Regions from separate parts of the Homo sapiens genome. Here regions 1, 2, 3, 4 and 5 are each linked to region 6. Evidence: promoter capture Hi-C in 16 types of primary human blood cells and fetal thymus (Javierre and others, 2016). All regions are on one chromosome and are shown on one strand. The core of a region is centred on a gene start or on the middle of the fragment in contact, and the rest is flanking DNA. Distances in the headings are between cores, read along the strand shown. Region 1 overlaps SKP2 (S-phase kinase associated protein 2). Region 2 overlaps NUP155 (nucleoporin 155). Region 3 overlaps NUP155 (nucleoporin 155). Region 4 holds the start of CPLANE1-AS1 (CPLANE1 antisense RNA 1). Region 5 has its middle 3.5 kb from the start of NUP155. Region 6 holds the start of SLC1A3-AS1 (SLC1A3 antisense RNA 1).

Region 1 (2,700 bases), core at 19-2,518, 560 kb before region 6:
TTAAGCTTACTCTTCCATAGAGGCCACTTCCTCCAGGAAGGCTTCCTTAACCTCTGCACCATTCCCATGTGCTGCACAGCACCCTGAATCCTGCTGTAGCCCATCAGGATAGTTTATTGAAATTTCCTGTTTAATTGTTTGTCTGTATCTCTCAAACTCAGAGTAGAATAAGGGTCAGGATTGTACCTTACTTATTGTTGTGGCCCAAAACCTAGAACAGACCTCAGTGTATATAGTACATGGTTAATAAATACGTGAGTGGATGACTATACTTATAGCTAAATATAGTTATGCCCAATCAATTACTAGATTCTGATCTAGATATGTAAGAGGCAGCAGAGGTCTGAGAGAGTTGGATTAATGGGAGAAAAACTTGAGAAAAGCCTGTCATTCAACTTTGTTTTCAATTTGGGGAGCAGGGCAAGAGCCTGGTTTGAGAACCTTTGTCCCCTGCCCATGTTGACTTTGGAGGAACTTTGTGGCAGTGATGGAACAGCTGCCACGTCGAGGAGCCTCCTCACAACCTCCAGCTGCCTCCCCAGATCAGCAGGGGTGATCTGCCTTCAGCTTTCTACCCCTAGCTTTCAGGGCCTCAGTCAGTCCTTTAATTTTGTCCCCTGAAGGGCGTGAGGCTAGGGGAACAGGCATTCATTGAACAACTGTGTATCTCCTACTCATTCTTCAAGAGAGGCCACTTCCTCCAGAAAGGCTTCCCTAACCCCTGCGCCATTCCCATAAGCTGCACAGCACCCCGAATCCTACTGTAGCCCATCAGGATAGGTTATTGAAGTTTCCTGTTTGTCTATATCTCTCAAACTCTGAGCAGAATAAGGGTCAGGATTGTGCCTTATTTATCATTGTGTCCTTAAAACCTAGAATAGACCTCAGTGTATAGTACATATTTTATAAATATGGGAGTGGATGAATGTATCAATTTTATGCTAGTTCCTGAAAATACAAAAATTGTTAAAAAAAAAAAAAAAAGCGTTTTTGTTTCTCAAGAGCTCCTGGGGGTCTAGAGAGATGAGTAAGTAAATAATGAAATTATGGTACATAAGTGGCCTGTCCTTGTTGATGTCACGGGAGGCCTTCTGTGGGAACTGGGGCTTCCATTTGATTTTAAATGAATAGTAGTTGGAGGCAAGCACAGGATGTGCAAAAGCATTGAGATACGGCACAGAATGACTCATTCTAAGAATTACAGGTAGCTCCAAATGGCTGGAACACATTTCTAGATAACAAACCTAGGAAAACTAGTTGAGACCTGGCTGAAAGCGTTTAACTTTGTACTAAGCATTGTGGACTTTAGCCTAAATACCTGGGGTGTACCACTGAAGGATTCTAACTGGGGGAAAGACATGCTGGTTTAGAAAGACTGCCCAGGGCAGCAGGTGTTTGTCACACTCCTCGGTGTTTTTCTCCCTTGTGTCCTCAAACCCACTTATACAGGGCCTGGTACAAAGGACATGCTCAGTAAAGACTGGCACCTTTAAATGGGAGTAGGAGGAGAGAATATCACCAGAATTGGTGTAGAAGATCCATCAGAGGTGGAAAGCCTAGGAAGGCAATCATTGAACTCATCTGACTGTTTTTTAGGATTCCTTCATTGTGCATTTATTTCCTTCTTGGCAATTGTTACATTATCCTGAGCTTGTGGGATTATTCTATGTATTCATATGTAAGAGTTTCATACTTGTTGAATAGTTATTTAGAGATTGCTTCTATGAAAGAAAACTGCGCTTCCTGCATCCACCTTTCTGTTCTAAACACAGCAGCCAGAGTGATCCTTTTTGAACTTACGTGAGGGCCTGTCATTCCTGTGCTCAGAATCTTCTAGTGGTGCCTCATAGAATTCAGCGTCAAAGCCAAAGGCTTTATCATGACCTAGGAAGCCTGCATGACCTGGCTGCTCTCTGATTTTTCTACCCACCTACCTCTGCGCTCTACACTGGCCTCCTTGCTATGCCTCAAACACACATGCTGTTCCTTGGATCTAGAACACGTACACCAGATACTCACAGGGCTCACTCCCTCACTTTGTTCAAGCCTTTGCTTAGTGATCGTCATCTCAGTATGGCCTTCCCTGACCACCATGTTCAAACTTAATAACATCTGCTCTGAACTCTCTGTTCTCTCCCTTGCCCTGTTTAATTTTTCTGCACAGCACAGATCAATTTTACTATATCATATAATGTACTTATTTTTTGATGTGTGATTATCTGTTCCGCATTACTGGAATGAAGTCCCACGAAGGTAGTGTTTTGGGTCTGATTTACTACTCCTTCCCAACACCTAAAATGATACCTGGCACCATAGTAGGAGCTCAGTAAATATTTGTTGAATTAAGAAATGACAATACCCTTTTGTATTGCTCTTTTAGGTAAACTGTGCCTTTTGTAAACCTGAAAGAAAGCATATTAGTCTGTTCTCATGTTGTTAATAAAGACATACCCAAGACTGGGTAATTCATAAAGGAAAGAGGTTTAATTGACTCACAGTTCAGCCTGGCTGGGGAGGCCTCAGGAAACGTACAAGCTTGGTGGAAGGGGAAGCAAACGTCCTTCTCCACATGGCGGCATCAAGTGCAGAGCAAAGGGGTCGGGGAAGCCACTTGTAAAACCATAAGATCTTGTGGGAACTCACTTATCACCAGAACAGCATCAAATTACAGGGGCGGTTATCACCAGGTAACCGTCCCCA
Region 2 (2,700 bases), core at 39-2,538, 630 kb after region 6:
GAATATATTTTAAATTTAAATCAATCAATTCTCCTTCCTAGTAACTCTGATAAGAGATTTGGCATTATGCTGGGCATGGTGGCTCACGTCTGTAATCCCAAACACTTTGGGAGGCCGAGGTGGGCGGATCACCTGAGGTCGGGAGTTCAAGACCAGCCCGACCAACATGGAGAATTCCCATCTCTACTAAAAATATAAAATTAGCCAAGCGTGGTGGTGCATGCCTGTAATCCCAGCTACTTGGGAGGCTGAGGCAGGAGAATCGCTTGAACCCAGGAGGCGGAGGGTGCGGTGAGCCGAGATCACGCCATTACACTCCAGCCTGGGCAACAAGAGCAAAATTCCATCTCAAAAAAAAAAAAAAAAAATAGAGATTTGGCATTATGAGGGTGAAAGAGTAAGTCAAACAATGCTTGTGATATCTACAAGATTTAATTTACTCTGAACTCTGTTCTCACTTCCATGGGCTATCAGGATTATGGCCAGGGCATGGCAGCTCATGCCTATAATACCAGCACTTTGGGAGACCGATGTGGGAGGATCACCTGAGGTCAGGAGTTCGAAACCAGCATGGCCAACATGGCGAAACCCTGTCTCTACTAAAAATATAAAAATTAGGCGTGGTGACATGCGTTTATAATCCCAGCTACTTGAGAGGCTGAGGCAGGAGAATCGCTTGAACTCAGGAGGCGAGACTGCAGTGAGCACCAAGGTGGCTAAACTGCACTCTAGCCTGGGCAACAGAGTGAGACTCTGTAACAGAAAAAAAAAGAAAGGTACATTTAAAGGATATATTTTAAATTTAAATCAATCAATTCTCCTTCTCAGTAACCCTGATAAGAGATTTGGCATTATGAGGGTGAAACAATAAGTTAAACAATGCTTGTGACGTTTCTAAGATTTACTCTAAACTCTGTTCTCACTTCCACGGGCCATCAAGAATATGGCCAGGGCACGGCGGCTCACGCCTGTAATCCCAGCACATTGGGAGGCCAAGGTAGGCAAATCACCTGAGGTCAACAGTTCAAAACCAGCCTGGCCAACATGGCAAAACCCTGCTCTACTAAAAATATAAAAATTAGCTGGGCATGGTGGCACATGCCTGTAATCCCAGCTACTTGGAAGGCTGAGGCAAGAGAATCGCTCAATCCTGGGAGGCGGAGGCTGCTGTGAGCGGAGATCACGCCACTGCACTCCAGCCTGGGCAACAGAGCGAGACTCTGTCTCAAAAAAGAAAAAGACTAAAAAAATGGCCAGGTGCAGTGGCTCACAAGTGTTAACCCAGCATCCCTGAGGTGGGTGGATTGCTTGAGCACAGGAGTTCAAGACCAGCCTGGGCAACATGGCAAAACCCCATCTCTACAAAAATTAGCCTGGTGTGGTAGCACAAAACTGTAGTCCCAGCTACTTGGGAGGCTGAGGTGGGAGGGTCTCCTGAGCCTGGGAGGTTGAGGCTGTAGTGAGCCATGATCATGCCACTGCACTCCAGCCCGGGTGATAGAGTATAAGACCTTAATCTCAAAAAAAAAAAAAAAAAAAAAAAAAAAGAGAAAGACAGACTAATAAAATGCAGACACTAAAATTTTTCTTAACATTAAATTCAGCAATTAATGAAAAATCTATAGTGCAAAACCTTCAGGTATATCAAGAAAGAGCAGTAAAAAGCAAATAAAATAAAATTCAAAAAATTACAGTTTAACATTTTTAAAGGCAGTGTCACTTATACCATTAAAGTAAACAGTTAAACATTAATAATCACTTTACATATTTCTAATTAGAATTCAAAATAAAACTTCAATGGAGAATACAATTGTTTAAAAAAGGGTGTTGTCAGCCAGGCGCGGTGGCTTACATCTGTAATCCCAGCACTTTGGGAGGCTGAGGCGGGCGGATCACCTGAGGTCAGGAGTTGAGACCAGCCTGGCCAACATGGCGGAGCCCCGTCTCTACTAAAAATACAAAAATTAGCTGGGTGTGGTGGCGCACGCCCGTAATCCCAGCTATTCGGGAGGCTGAGGCAGGAGAACTGCTTGAACCCAGGAGGCGGAGATTGCAGTGAGCCAAGATTGCGCCACTGCACTCCAGCCTACTCGATGGAACGAGACTCCATCTCGAAAAAAATGTGTGTTGTTGTTCAGGTCTATACCATTTGGAGTTTACATATACAAACATAATCTCTTCCTTATAGTTTTATTTCTTACCTGCTTTTGGCTTCACAAGCCCCACAGCAAGAATAGTCTCACTAAGTCCATCAAAATAGGCAAGGTCTCCTCTGTGAATAAATGAAGAAAAACATGTTACACATATAAAGCAAATAGGCCAGATGTGGTGGCTCATGTCTTTAATCCCAGTACTTTGGGAGTCTGAGGCAGGAGGACTGCCTGAGCCCAGAAGTTCAAGACCAGCCTGGGCAACATAGTGAGACTGTCTCTACAAAAAAGAAACAAAAAATTAGCCAGGCATGGGGGTGTGAGGCCACTGAGTTGGCAGGATCGCAAAGGCCTGGGAGGTTGAGGCTGCAGTGAGTAGTGATCATGCCACTGCACTCCAGCCTGGGTGACAAAGTGAGAGCCTGTCTCAAAAAAGAAAAGAAAAGAAAAACAGAAAACCAAGTATTATCTTACAATGATCTTTATTATTATTATTACTATTATTTTTGAGACAAGGTCCAGCTCTGTCACCCAGGCTGAAGTGCAGTGG
Region 3 (2,700 bases), core at 100-2,599, 590 kb after region 6:
TGCTGTCAACTAAGTTTTAGTCTATGTCTAAATTTATATATGGTTATTACCATTAAAATGAAAACAACTCTACAAACTTACTTCTTAATTTTAGGCAGAAAAGTTTTTGACCAAAGATTCCTAGCTATTCTTAATTCCTCTCCCAAATATGTTAAGCAAGAGAACTTTTGTCTGGTAATTCTCTTGCCTAGTCAATACATTATTGGGCAGCAGGCAGTCCATGTGACACTGATTTATTTATTTTTTCCACCTGTAGGAAAGGATCAATAAAAATGCCCCCATTAACTCTAATTCACTAAAAGATTTACTTGAAGTTTTAGTACTTTTCCTTAAGCTAAGGAGATAAATTATCCCCTAAATTTCCTTAATTTCTAAATTTAGTGATTTTTCTTAATTTCTCACCTTTGGTTTTTTAATATGGCCTAGAAACACTATCAAAGATTCTTTATGGGCCAGGCGCAGAGGCTCATGTCTATAATCCCAACACTTTGCAAGGCTGAGGCAGGCGGAGGTCAGGAGTTCAAAACCAGCCTAGACAACATGGTGAAATCCTGTCTCTACCAAAAATATAAAAAATTAGCCAGGTGTGATGGTGCACACCTGTAATCCCAGCTATTTGGGAGGCCGAGGCAGGAGAATCACTTGAACCTGGGAGGTGGAGGTTGCAGTGAGCTGAGATCGTACTCAGTCTTAAAAAAAAAGAGAGAATATTCTTTATGAAAAACTTAAAGGAGGGCTGGGCATGGTGGCTCACACTTATAATCCCAGCACTATGGGAGGCTGAGGCAGGAGGATCACTTGAAGCCAAGAGTTCAAGACCAGCCTGTGCAACAAATCAGAACTTGTCTCTATAAAAAACAAAAAAATTGGCTGGGTGTAGTGGTGCACACCCGTAGCCCCTAGCTACATGAGAGGCCTGCTTGAGTCTAGGACTTAGAAGCTGCTGTGAGCTATGATCACAGCACTGCACTACAGCCTAAGCAACAGAGTGAAACCCTGTGTCAAATAAATAAATAAAAATATTTTTAAAAAGAAAAGCTAAGCTTAAAAGAGTATACACTGGTTTTAAGAAGCCACATATTCCAACCCCTTTCTTAGATGAGGATTCTGAGGCTAGGAGAGGTTAAGAGATCTAACTGACTGAGGTCCTATATTAAGTGAAACAAGATGGTTCATCATACATGATACCTCTTATAACAAACAATGAAATAGGTAATAAAGTATCATACCTTAGAACAAATTGCATCATCAGTGCTATATAGAAGTGGGCAGATATCCTGTAAATGTAAACTAATGCCATCAACAGCGGCATTATCTCTGATGTAGCAGTTGATAAGAGAAGCAATTAATGCCCCTGTGAGTTCTTTGTCCCTGATTACAAGATCTTTAAAGGTGGTGATCTTCAGCTGCTCTTGAAGTTCCTAGGAGCATAAAACTTTTCTATCACAATTATAGAAATACCATATTTCTAAACATAATGAAATTATTTTAATAAATTAAAATAACCTAAATATTAATAGACTCTATAATTGAAAAGCGAAAATATACTAATTAGTAGAAACAAATTTTTGCGAACTTACATAAAATCATAGAGAGTTGGAAAAGAACCTACAGTAGATCTAGTCCAAAACTCTCACTTTCCAAATGAGAAAAGTAAAGCTTAAGTAGAGCCAAAACTAGAGTCAGATCTCCTGGCTTTGGTTATAAAATGGAAAAAACAATCACTTGGCTATATTTGAAAATCTTGGGCTTACATATTACTCCTTCCTAAACACTGTTAGAATTCCATTATTCTAGGCCTTATAATAATATTGGAGTTTAATCTGTATTGTGAACAAATCTGCTTGTCCAAATGAAGCTCTAAAGTATTGATTTATACTATAGTAAAAGATTCTGTTAGTGATGTGACTGCTATCTCTTTTTTCTAAATTCAAGGAAATACCCAAACTGTGTTAAAATTCTTGAACAAATCTTTAATTTGCATTCATTGAGCATGCCATTGGTGATGTAAGGAAGAGAGCTTTGAAGATGGATCACAAAAACATACCCAGGATAAAAACCTACCTACAATATATTTATCACTCTATAAAACTCAAAATTATTATTCTACTTGGTATGAAAAAGATAAGTTTCATAATTAAATATATTAGCTTGAATTTTTAAAAATAAAAAACAGTATGTATTTAAAAGAAACAAAACCACCAACAAAAGCCACACTATTCATTGGACACTAGTGGAAAGAATGAGGAGACTGCCTTCCAACGTTGAAAAATGGTATACGAGAGTCAAAAAGTAAGTGTTTCAGAGTAATGAAATATCCATACAGGACAAGGAAAAAGAATTTTTTTTTTTTTTTTTACAGAATTGCAGCTAGTAACTGGGGAAGGAATCACAGATTTAAAATATTATCCTTTTGGCCGGGCATGGTGGCTCATGCCTGTAATCCCAGCACTTTGGGAGGCCAAGGCAGGTAGATCACCTGACGTCAGGAGTTCAACACCAGCCTGGCCAACATGGCGAAACCCGGTCTCTTACTAAAACTACAAAAATCAGCCAGGCGTTGTGGCACATGCCTGTAGTCCCAGCTACTCGGGAAGCTGAGGCAGGAGAACTGCTTGTACCCGGGAGGTGGAGGTTACAGTGATCTCAGATTGCTCCACAGCACTCCAGCCTGGGTGACAGAATGAGACACTGTCTCAA
Region 4 (2,700 bases), core at 74-2,573, 520 kb after region 6:
TTAAGTAAAACAGTCCCAAGATTCTGTAAACAATAATAGTAATAAAATATAAATGATGCATAATATTCACTGGGCATTTTTTTTTTTTTTTTGAGACAAGAGTTTCGTTCTGTTGCCCCAGCTGGAGTGCAGTGATATGATCTCAGCTCACTGCAACCTCCGCCTCCCGGATTCAAGTGATTCTCCTGCGTTAGCCTCCCGAGTAGCTGGGACTACAAGCGTGTGCCACCACGCCTGGCTAATTTTAAGTAGAGATGGGGTTTCACCATGTTGGCCAGGCTGGTCTCAAACTCCTGACTTCAAGTGATCCATCCACTTCGTCCTCCCAAAGTGCTGGGATAACAGGCACGATCCACTGCGCATGGACCACTGAAGATCTTAACTGACAATTTTCATAAAGTTTTGATTTATATTTTATTTCTGAGTTGAAGTTTTGCTCTTGTAGCCCAGGCTGCAGTGCAGTGGCGCGATCTCGGCTCACTGCAACCTCCGCCTCCCGGGTTCAAGCGATTCTCTTGCCTCAGCCTCCCGAGTAGCTGGGATTACAGGCATGCACCACCACACCGGACTAATTTTTTTGTATTTTTAGTAGAAACCGGGTTTCACCATGTTGGCCAGGCTGGTCTCGAACCCCTGACCTTGGGTGATCCGCCCGACTCAGCCTCCCAAAGTGCTGGGATTACAGGCGTGATCCACTGTGCCCGGCCAAATTAGATGGGCTTGTTTTTTTGTTTTTTTAATAAAATAGCTTTAAAAGAAAAACTACTCAGAGACAGCACACAAAGATCTATCAAGATGCTAGCTATCAGTCAGCACGGAGGCTGAGATGGGAAGATCGCTTGAGGACAAGAGAGTTCGAGGCTGCAGTGAGCTGTGATTGTGCCTGTGAGAGCCACTGCACTCCAGCGTGGGCAACGCAGCGAAGACTCCGGCTCAAAAATAAATAAATAAAATTGCAAATAAAATAAATTCTCACAAAAGGGTTAACCAAATGCCAGAGAAACGCCGGCATTAGAAAAGCATCATTTGCAGCTCCTAATGAAATAACAAATCCAGTCAATAGTATCAGCGCTGCTAAAATTATTGAGTGAAAAAATACTGGGAACTTTATGCACTGACATACCCTAAATCCATTAGTCAATCTTAAAATTGCTAAGAGCGAGGAAAATTGACGTTCTATTCCTCCGGATCCTGCTCGAGAAGCTGGGGGACTCGGGTCCGGTGCCGAGGTGTGGCCCGAGCCTGGCACCACCCACGCCGGCCGGGTGACCCCGGCCCCTTGGGGCTCCCGCGCTCCGTCAGCAGGCGACGCTGGGAGGCTGGGGTAGGCCCAGAGCGAGGACGGGCCCGGACTGGGTAGTGGGGATGTACCAGGGCCGGGTGCGGCGGGAGACGGCCCGGGAGGCGGAAGGTCGCGGACCTGCCCGACAGAAGAGTAGATGAGGGGAGACCGAGGACGCCCGGGTCCGGGGAGCTTACGAGGAGGCCAGGATCGCGGGGTAAGGAATCCGCGGGCAGTTACCTCCGCCAGGGGCAGGGTCCGGCCAGTCAGGCGCGAGAAGGCTAGGCGAGGCCGACTGCGCGGGGTGAAGACGCCAGGCCGACAGCTGCGGGCCCTACCGCCAGCCCTGACGCGAGCCTGCGTCCTGGCGACGGCGGAGGGCGGGCAGGGGGCGCGGGCGCTGCCACGGCGCCTGCTCAGAACCGGCCGGGAACGCCGCGGGCGGGTCTCCCCGGTCCTCCGCCCCTCCAGCCCTGCTCTCAGGCCTCCGCCCGGGCCCTCTAAGCTGCCAGCCGCGCCCGCCTCCGGGCTCCTCGCCCCTCCTCCCGCGCGCTCCCCTCCTCAGCGGCCGCCGGACCCCCTCAGTTCACTTCTCCCAGTTAACGCGTTCCTCGGACGCTGCTAGTTTGAGCGCACAGGCATTGGGCGGGGCTCACGGGGGAGCCGCTTAATAACCGACCAACATGAAACTCAAGGGCTGCCCCTTCCTAGCGGGGACCCTGCACAGACCCGAAAATAAGGGGTTTTGCTCTGCCCTCCTCAGTTCACGTGGGCACCTTGGAACACTGAAGAAGGCATTTTCCGAACTCACTGTCCTACGGACTTATTCTCCGCACTGTTTTCGCCTCCTTCGCCCTGTTCTCGTGACTGACAGGAGCAGGGGTCACAAGCAGGCAGCCCGAGAGCTCTGCTCACCTGGAAAAGCATTTTTGTGTAGCTTAAATGTGAAGGCCTCAGGCAGTGGCCTGTTGTCCTCCTCCACATGCGCCCATCTTCACTCTTTCATGTGACTGGCCTGTTTTTGAAGGCAGGACCCTGTCACCCTTGGCTAGGCCAGGTATGTTCTGCACCGAAAATGGCCCTGCCCTCTGCATTGGATGGCTAGCTCTTAGGTTGGTTTATTTTAGCAAATAAGCGTTACAGGGTAGGCGAACTGGCTGCATCAGAACCACAATTACCCCTGTGTCTCTGGGTGGGATAAATGGCGGATGGCATTCTGGCAGCTCAGCCCCACTTATCTCAGAGGTTATAGATCTGAGGTGGTTTAGATCCACCCCCAAATCACGAACATTTTACATAAGCCGTGCTAGAGTTAGCATAAAAGTCTCACAGAAAAATTTGGAAACTGAGAAATCCTAACCTATTCCCACAATCCTGTGTTCCCATTTTTAGGTCTTAAGATATGAAGACAATGGGAT
Region 5 (2,700 bases), core at 4-2,503, 650 kb after region 6:
GCTGTCAATTGAAGAAAAATAACCCTCTTTTAAAGAATTAAAGTCAGTTTGATTCAGACTCAGGATTGCAACCTTTCAGAGAGTTTCTGTTAAGACTGCTCCAAAGTAGCTTTTAGCCCACAGCTTACATGTCAGGGGTTGGAAGCTCTGCATGTGCTCAGAAATTACATTAAACATGCTCATAAACTGGGTATAGTGACTCACACCTGTAATTCTAGCACTTTGAGAGGCCTATGCATGAGGGTCTCTTGAGGCCAGGCATTCAAAACCAACCTGGGCAGCCAGGTGTGGACCTGTAGTCCCAGCTACTTGGTGGGCTGAGGCAGGAGCATCACTTTAGCCCAGGAGTTCCAGGTTGCAGTGAGCCATGACCATGCCACTGCATTCTAGTCTGGTTGATAAAGGGAGACTCTGTCTCTAAAAAAAAAAAAAAAAAAAAAAAAAAAAGCTCATAAATTACATTAGAGCAAAATCTCATCAAAGTTTGGGTGTAAGAGTACATCTGGTTATAGATTACAGAGGCATAATCATGAATCCTATGGGACACTATCTTATGTACTGGAAGAGGCAAGGGGTAGGAACACTGAACTTACCTTTTTTTAAAAAATGCATTGATTGAAGCAAGAGACGTGGGAACCTGTGCTCTAACCTGCTTATTGTTTCCAGGGCATTCTTCTAGAAGTCTATACTTAGTCACTGAGTTGGGCTTTGTGAAATTCTGCTGGCAAGCAGAATGAGCAAACTTGGTTTTTTATGTTTGCTACTTTGTCTAACATGTCAACATTTTGTGACTTATTTAGTTGAAGTATAATATATTAATATTAAGAAAAGCTGGCCTCACCAGGCGCGCTGGCTCACACCTGTAATCCCAGCACTTTGGGAGGCCGAGGCGGGTGGATTGCCTGAGGTCAGAGGTTCGAGACTAGCCTGGCCAACATGGTGAAACCCCGTTTCTACTAAAAATACAAAAATCAGTGGGGCATGGTGGCGCAAGCCTGTAATCCCGGCTACTTGGGAGGCTAAGCCAGGGGAATTGCCCGAACCTGGGAGGCGGAGGTTGCAGTGAGCTGAGATCGTGCCATTGCACTCCAGCCTGGGCTACAAGAGCGAAACTCTGTCTCAAAAAAAAAGAAAGAAAGAAAGAAGGAAAAACTGGCCTCAGTTACATATTTAGAAAAAGAAGAAGTATTTTAATAATTGTCAACAAGTGCAGTCAGTTTTTTTTTTTTTTTAAACAGAGTTTTGCTCTTGTCGCCTAGGCTGGGGTGCAATGGTGCGATCTCAGCTCATTGCAACCTCTGCCTCCCAGGTTCAAGCAATCCTCCTGCTTCAGCCTCCTGAGTAGCTGGAATTACAGGCTAATTTTCTTTTCTTTATTTTTTTTTTTTGAGATGGAGTTTTGCTCTTGTTGCCCAGGTTGGAGTGCAGTGGCATGATCTCTGTTCACTGCAACCTCTGCCTCTCAGGTTCAAGCAATTCTGCCTCAGCCTTCCGAGTAGCTGGGATTACAGGCACATACCACCATGCCCAGCTCATTTTTTTGTATTTTTAGTAGAGACGGGGGTTTTACTATGTTGGTCAGGCTGGTCTTGAACTCCTGACCTCAGGTGATCCACCCGCCTTGGCCTCCCAAAGCGCTGGGATTACAGACGTGAGCCACCGCACCCAGCTACGCCTGGCTAATTTTCTGTATTTTTAGTAGAGACGGGGTTTCACCATGTTGGCCAGGCTGGTCTCGAACTCCTGGCCTTGGGTGATCCTCCCACCTCGGCTTCCAAAGTGCTGGGATTACCCGTGTAAGCCACCATGCCTGACCTGTTTTTCTTAAAGTGATAAACTCATTTCATTTATTTTTGAAAAAATGTTTGCCAAATACTTAAATATGAACAACTGTACTTTGTGAGTCATTCTTTCAGGTAAAAATAATGTTCCATGAAAAAAGCTAACCACTCAATTACAAGTGGTTTTCTTTTCGATGACCATTCTACTTAGATATGCATTAGCTGGGCATGGTGGCGTATGCCTGTGGTCCCATCTACTCAGGAAGCTGAGGCAGGGGAAGATCGCTTGAGTCCAGGAGTTTGAGGCTAAAGTGCTTCATGACTGAACTTGTAAATAGCCACTGCACTCCAGTCTGGGTAACACAGTGAGACCCCATCTGTAAGAAATTTTTTTAAAAACATACTTTATGATTACTTCTCATTTTGTCATACTGAAGGTTAAAAAGACGTATAATTAAGGGTCAGGGTTTAACGAAATGAATACTGTTTATGGCTTTATTAAGGATATTCCTAAGGGAAACTGATTTTGCTTACAACGCCTATGTAACTGAAAAATACAGTGACTACTACAACATTTTGAATCCTACTGCCTTGATTTATTTTAAGGGACTGTTTTAATTTAGGAATTTTAAGATAGAGCATGCTTCTTCAATGATTAGTAGAAACACAGATATAAACAAAGATTTTATTACTTACATGCCTGGCGGGGCATCTGGCGCACCTGGAGGTCAAGGAATGCAGTCAGGGAAAGACAAAGAGGGACTCATGAGCCAATGCATTTATTGGGTTCATGGTGTTTTCCAAATAGATTTCCCAAGAGGAATTCCCACACTTTAATTGGTGGGTTTAAAGCAAGCATGCACAAATTTGAGGACAAGCTTGTCAGCCCAGAATGGCTTTGAATGTGGCCCAACACAAA
Region 6 (2,700 bases), core at 198-2,697:
GTCTCTAAAAAGTAAAGAAATGAAATAGAAAATAAAAACGAATGGTAGAAATAAAAGGAACTGAGTAGTAGGGGGCAGAGGCATGTCTAGGGGAGAGAACTAGAACTGCCAAGGGATTTGAGTGCCTGATGGATTCTGAAGACTGAAATATACATGACCCCAAAAAGCAATGTCATTTGTAAATATTTGTTAATGAGTTTAGTGAAGTGCTACATGGAGGAATGATCTAGCCAATGAGAACAATGTGCACCAGCCAGTTGGATTCTTGAAGCTGCAGAGACTTCATCTTCAGCCACAGCAGGTGGCTGAGGGCTAGAGTTACTTGGGACTTTCCCCAATGCTCTAGTTCCTTCTATCTCTTGGAAACAAGTCTGGCTCAATATGTTCAGCAGCCCCATTGATGTTGCCCAGAGGAAGTGTGGATCAGGGCTCGCTGACCCCAAGGTTAGCAGCAGAAGAGCAGGGCCTCTGCCTCCCCAGCCAGGAAGCCCACAGTCTTGGCCACATGAATGAAGGAGGTCTTGGCAGCATCTGACACACCTCGGGGTAATGATTTAGCCACCCCAAATTACCGTGTCTCCACAAAATAGTCACTTGGGGCCACACTACATTGTGGAGAGATAATGAAAGAGCTTCTATTTTTGAGCTATCTTTTCCTCATATGCGAATAATTTCACACACAAAAAAATGAGAAAACCACTTCTCTCTGTCACCTACAGAATCAGGAACAGGGATCAGATTATCTTTTAGATACCCGCCCCAAAAAGAAATAAAAATCAAGAAAACATGGGTAAATACCATGGTGGACATTTAAATGAAGCTGAGAAAGAAAGCTTTCTCTATTTAGAGAAGAATTCAAAATGGATGGCAGGAGATTTGTTGAAAATAAGGAAGAGGGAGGGAAAGGTTAGTAAATAATAGGTCAAATCTTCAGCCTAGAGGGCACTACTAAGTTTTCTTTTGTTCCCCCTTAGGTTTCCTGGTGTAGCAGTGCAGTTGCAACGTAGTTTTGTTTTTTGGGTTTCTTTAAACCTAGAGTGGTAAGAGGGACTTGGTGGCGATGGACTGCCATGGGTCGGTTCCTTAGAGGGCTCTTGAGTTTTTCCCACCTGTCTCCAACTCCAGGGCCACCACTCTAATAAAGCCACTGCCATCTCTGACCAGCTCCCCTGCTGTGGCTTTCACTCTTGCTCTCTTTACAGCCCATTCCACACAGCAGCAGCCAGCATGGCACTTCCCGTTCTGGGCCCCTCCCACTGACTGCACCCTGTGCTTGTCCTTCATAGTGTGTAAAGATCTGTATGTGGGGTGATTTGACTAACGGTTCTCTCCCCTTAAGTATAAGTAAACCTATGAGGGCAAGGACTGCTTACCTTAGCATCCTTGGTTCCTGGTAGGATGCCCATCCCATAACAGGCTGGAGCTCCTGGGTGTGTGGGAGGGAGTAGGAAGGAAGCAACAGCTGCCAATCAAAGGCCCATTTGGGCATGTGACCCTTAGCTAGCCAATCAGAATCCTTTCCAGGGTTGTAGCAGTTGAAGCTGTGAGCAGCTCAGTTGGTTGGGTTGTCTGTCTTGTCTTGGCTTGGATTCTCCCAGAAGGAGATCCTGAGTCAATGATTCGGGTGCAAGTAGATTTCTTCTGGGAGCCTTTCTTTAATAAAGCACTTGCACCTGAGTCATTGACTCAGGATCTATTTCAGGATCTCCTTCTTGAGGGAGAGGGCGAAACAGGATCCAGAAGAAGCAAAGCAATGGAGCAGGCATGGCATCAGGAAGAGGACAGGGAGGCTGCCGTAAGCCCAGCAGGCTCCCTTTCAGGCTGTTAAGGAGGGGGATGAGTACGAACATGAAGGTGGCCCAAGTAGCTCTAAGGTCCCTTCTCTCATCTCCTGTCCTTACCGGGGGCCGTAGGCTCTAGATAAAACGCTGCCCCACCACCCGCCAGGGCTTTTGTTTTGGCTCACCTTTCATCCGCCTTCTCAGACTCTGTCTGCCTTGGCTTCCCTCAGCTGAACCCAGGGAATTTGCATTTTGCTATTTTCCATCTGCACTGGGTAGCCTGGCTCCAGATGTTTGGGGCAGCAAATGCAGAAATTCCAGGCAAACGGATCTGATCATTCTCTGCTTGGCTCCACTCGCTGCATCCCAAGCACCAGATGCCTCACTGGTGTCTGCCTACCTTCCTGGGAGGCAGATCCACCGCTCATAAGATAGAGCCCAACGACAAGACCCTGTACTTATGGAGGCCTTTTATTTAACAACTCATTTCATTGAAGGAAAAATCTAGAATCTACTAAGACCTCCTGATATTTTTTAATTAACTAGAAATTGTGGATGTATCCCTCAATATTTTCATCTAAAGTGGTTGAAATGATAATGGAGGGGAAACTGTGTTTTAAAAGCGTGTTACTCCATTTCTTTCATTCACCTCCATCAATGATAATATGAGTTATCACTCTTAATATTAACCACGTGGCAGGCTTCATGCATTCTCACATACATTTCACCCTAAGGCCTGGAGAAGATAATTTCACCAAAGTCACACAGGTAGTACATGGAAAGGTGTAAATTTGAACCTGGATCTTACTGCAAACCCATACTCTTAACTGCTTCATTCAACTTTTGCCAGCAATCATTTGTCATAGACTAAATGCCAGAACCTAAGCCCAAGATTTTGCAGTATACAGAGGAGAAACTG

The links. The method cuts DNA at HindIII sites, captures the fragments that hold promoters and counts their contacts. A CHiCAGO score of 5 or more calls a contact.
Region 1: a contact is called between a fragment that was not itself captured here and the fragment with the promoter of SLC1A3-AS1 in region 6, in 1 of 17 cell types (neutrophils). The highest score is 5.8, in neutrophils.
Region 2: a fragment that was not itself captured here is called in contact with the fragment with the promoter of SLC1A3-AS1 in region 6 in 1 of 17 cell types (neutrophils); the score reaches 5.2 in neutrophils.
Region 3: a fragment that was not itself captured here is called in contact with the fragment with the promoter of SLC1A3-AS1 in region 6 in 3 of 17 cell types (erythroblasts, fetal thymus and megakaryocytes); the score reaches 7.8 in erythroblasts.
Region 4: a contact is called between the fragment with the promoter of CPLANE1-AS1 here and the fragment with the promoter of SLC1A3-AS1 in region 6, in 7 of 17 cell types (activated CD4 T cells, fetal thymus, erythroblasts and 4 more). The highest score is 7.9, in activated CD4 T cells.
Region 5: a fragment that was not itself captured here is called in contact with the fragment with the promoter of SLC1A3-AS1 in region 6 in 3 of 17 cell types (erythroblasts, naive B cells and total B cells); the score reaches 7.9 in erythroblasts.

Annotation. Positions count from the first base shown.
Region 1 is chr5:36,160,325-36,163,024 of GRCh38, forward strand. All of the region lies in intron 2 of SKP2 (S-phase kinase associated protein 2), which reads left to right. Among named protein-coding and RNA genes, the nearest start is that of SKP2, 9.6 kb to the left of the region's middle. The HindIII fragment of the contact is 2,530 bases long and covers 4-2,533 here.
Region 2 is chr5:37,355,880-37,358,579 of GRCh38, forward strand. NUP155 (nucleoporin 155) reads right to left here. Exons shown (of 35, transcript NM_153485.3): 4 at 2,202-2,272. Among named protein-coding and RNA genes, the nearest start is that of NUP155, 14 kb to the right of the region's middle. The HindIII fragment of the contact is 8,560 bases long and covers 1-2,700 here.
Region 3 is chr5:37,309,323-37,312,022 of GRCh38, forward strand. NUP155 (nucleoporin 155) reads right to left here. Exons shown (of 35, transcript NM_153485.3): 23 at 1,230-1,421. Among named protein-coding and RNA genes, the nearest start is that of NUP155, 60 kb to the right of the region's middle. The HindIII fragment of the contact is 616 bases long and covers 1,042-1,657 here.
Region 4 is chr5:37,247,723-37,250,422 of GRCh38, forward strand. It overlaps CPLANE1-AS1 (CPLANE1 antisense RNA 1), which reads left to right and starts at 1,324. Exons shown (of 2, transcript NR_134263.1): 1 at 1,324-1,499; 2 at 2,675-2,700. It overlaps CPLANE1 (ciliogenesis and planar polarity effector complex subunit 1), which reads right to left and starts at 1,654. Exons shown (of 53, transcript NM_001384732.1): 1 at 1,523-1,654; 2 at 1-23. RefSeq lists silencers at 1,155-1,294, 1,495-1,974. The HindIII fragment of the contact is 6,498 bases long and covers 1-2,700 here.
Region 5 is chr5:37,373,283-37,375,982 of GRCh38, forward strand. No RefSeq gene overlaps it. Among named protein-coding and RNA genes, the nearest start is that of NUP155, 3.5 kb to the left of the region's middle. The HindIII fragment of the contact is 2,807 bases long and covers 1-2,657 here.
Region 6 is chr5:36,723,741-36,726,440 of GRCh38, forward strand. SLC1A3-AS1 (SLC1A3 antisense RNA 1) reads right to left here and starts at 1,448. Exons shown (of 2, transcript XR_007058736.1): 1 at 1,374-1,448. RefSeq lists enhancers at 26-75, 86-135, 176-445. The HindIII fragment of the contact is 5,384 bases long and covers 832-2,700 here.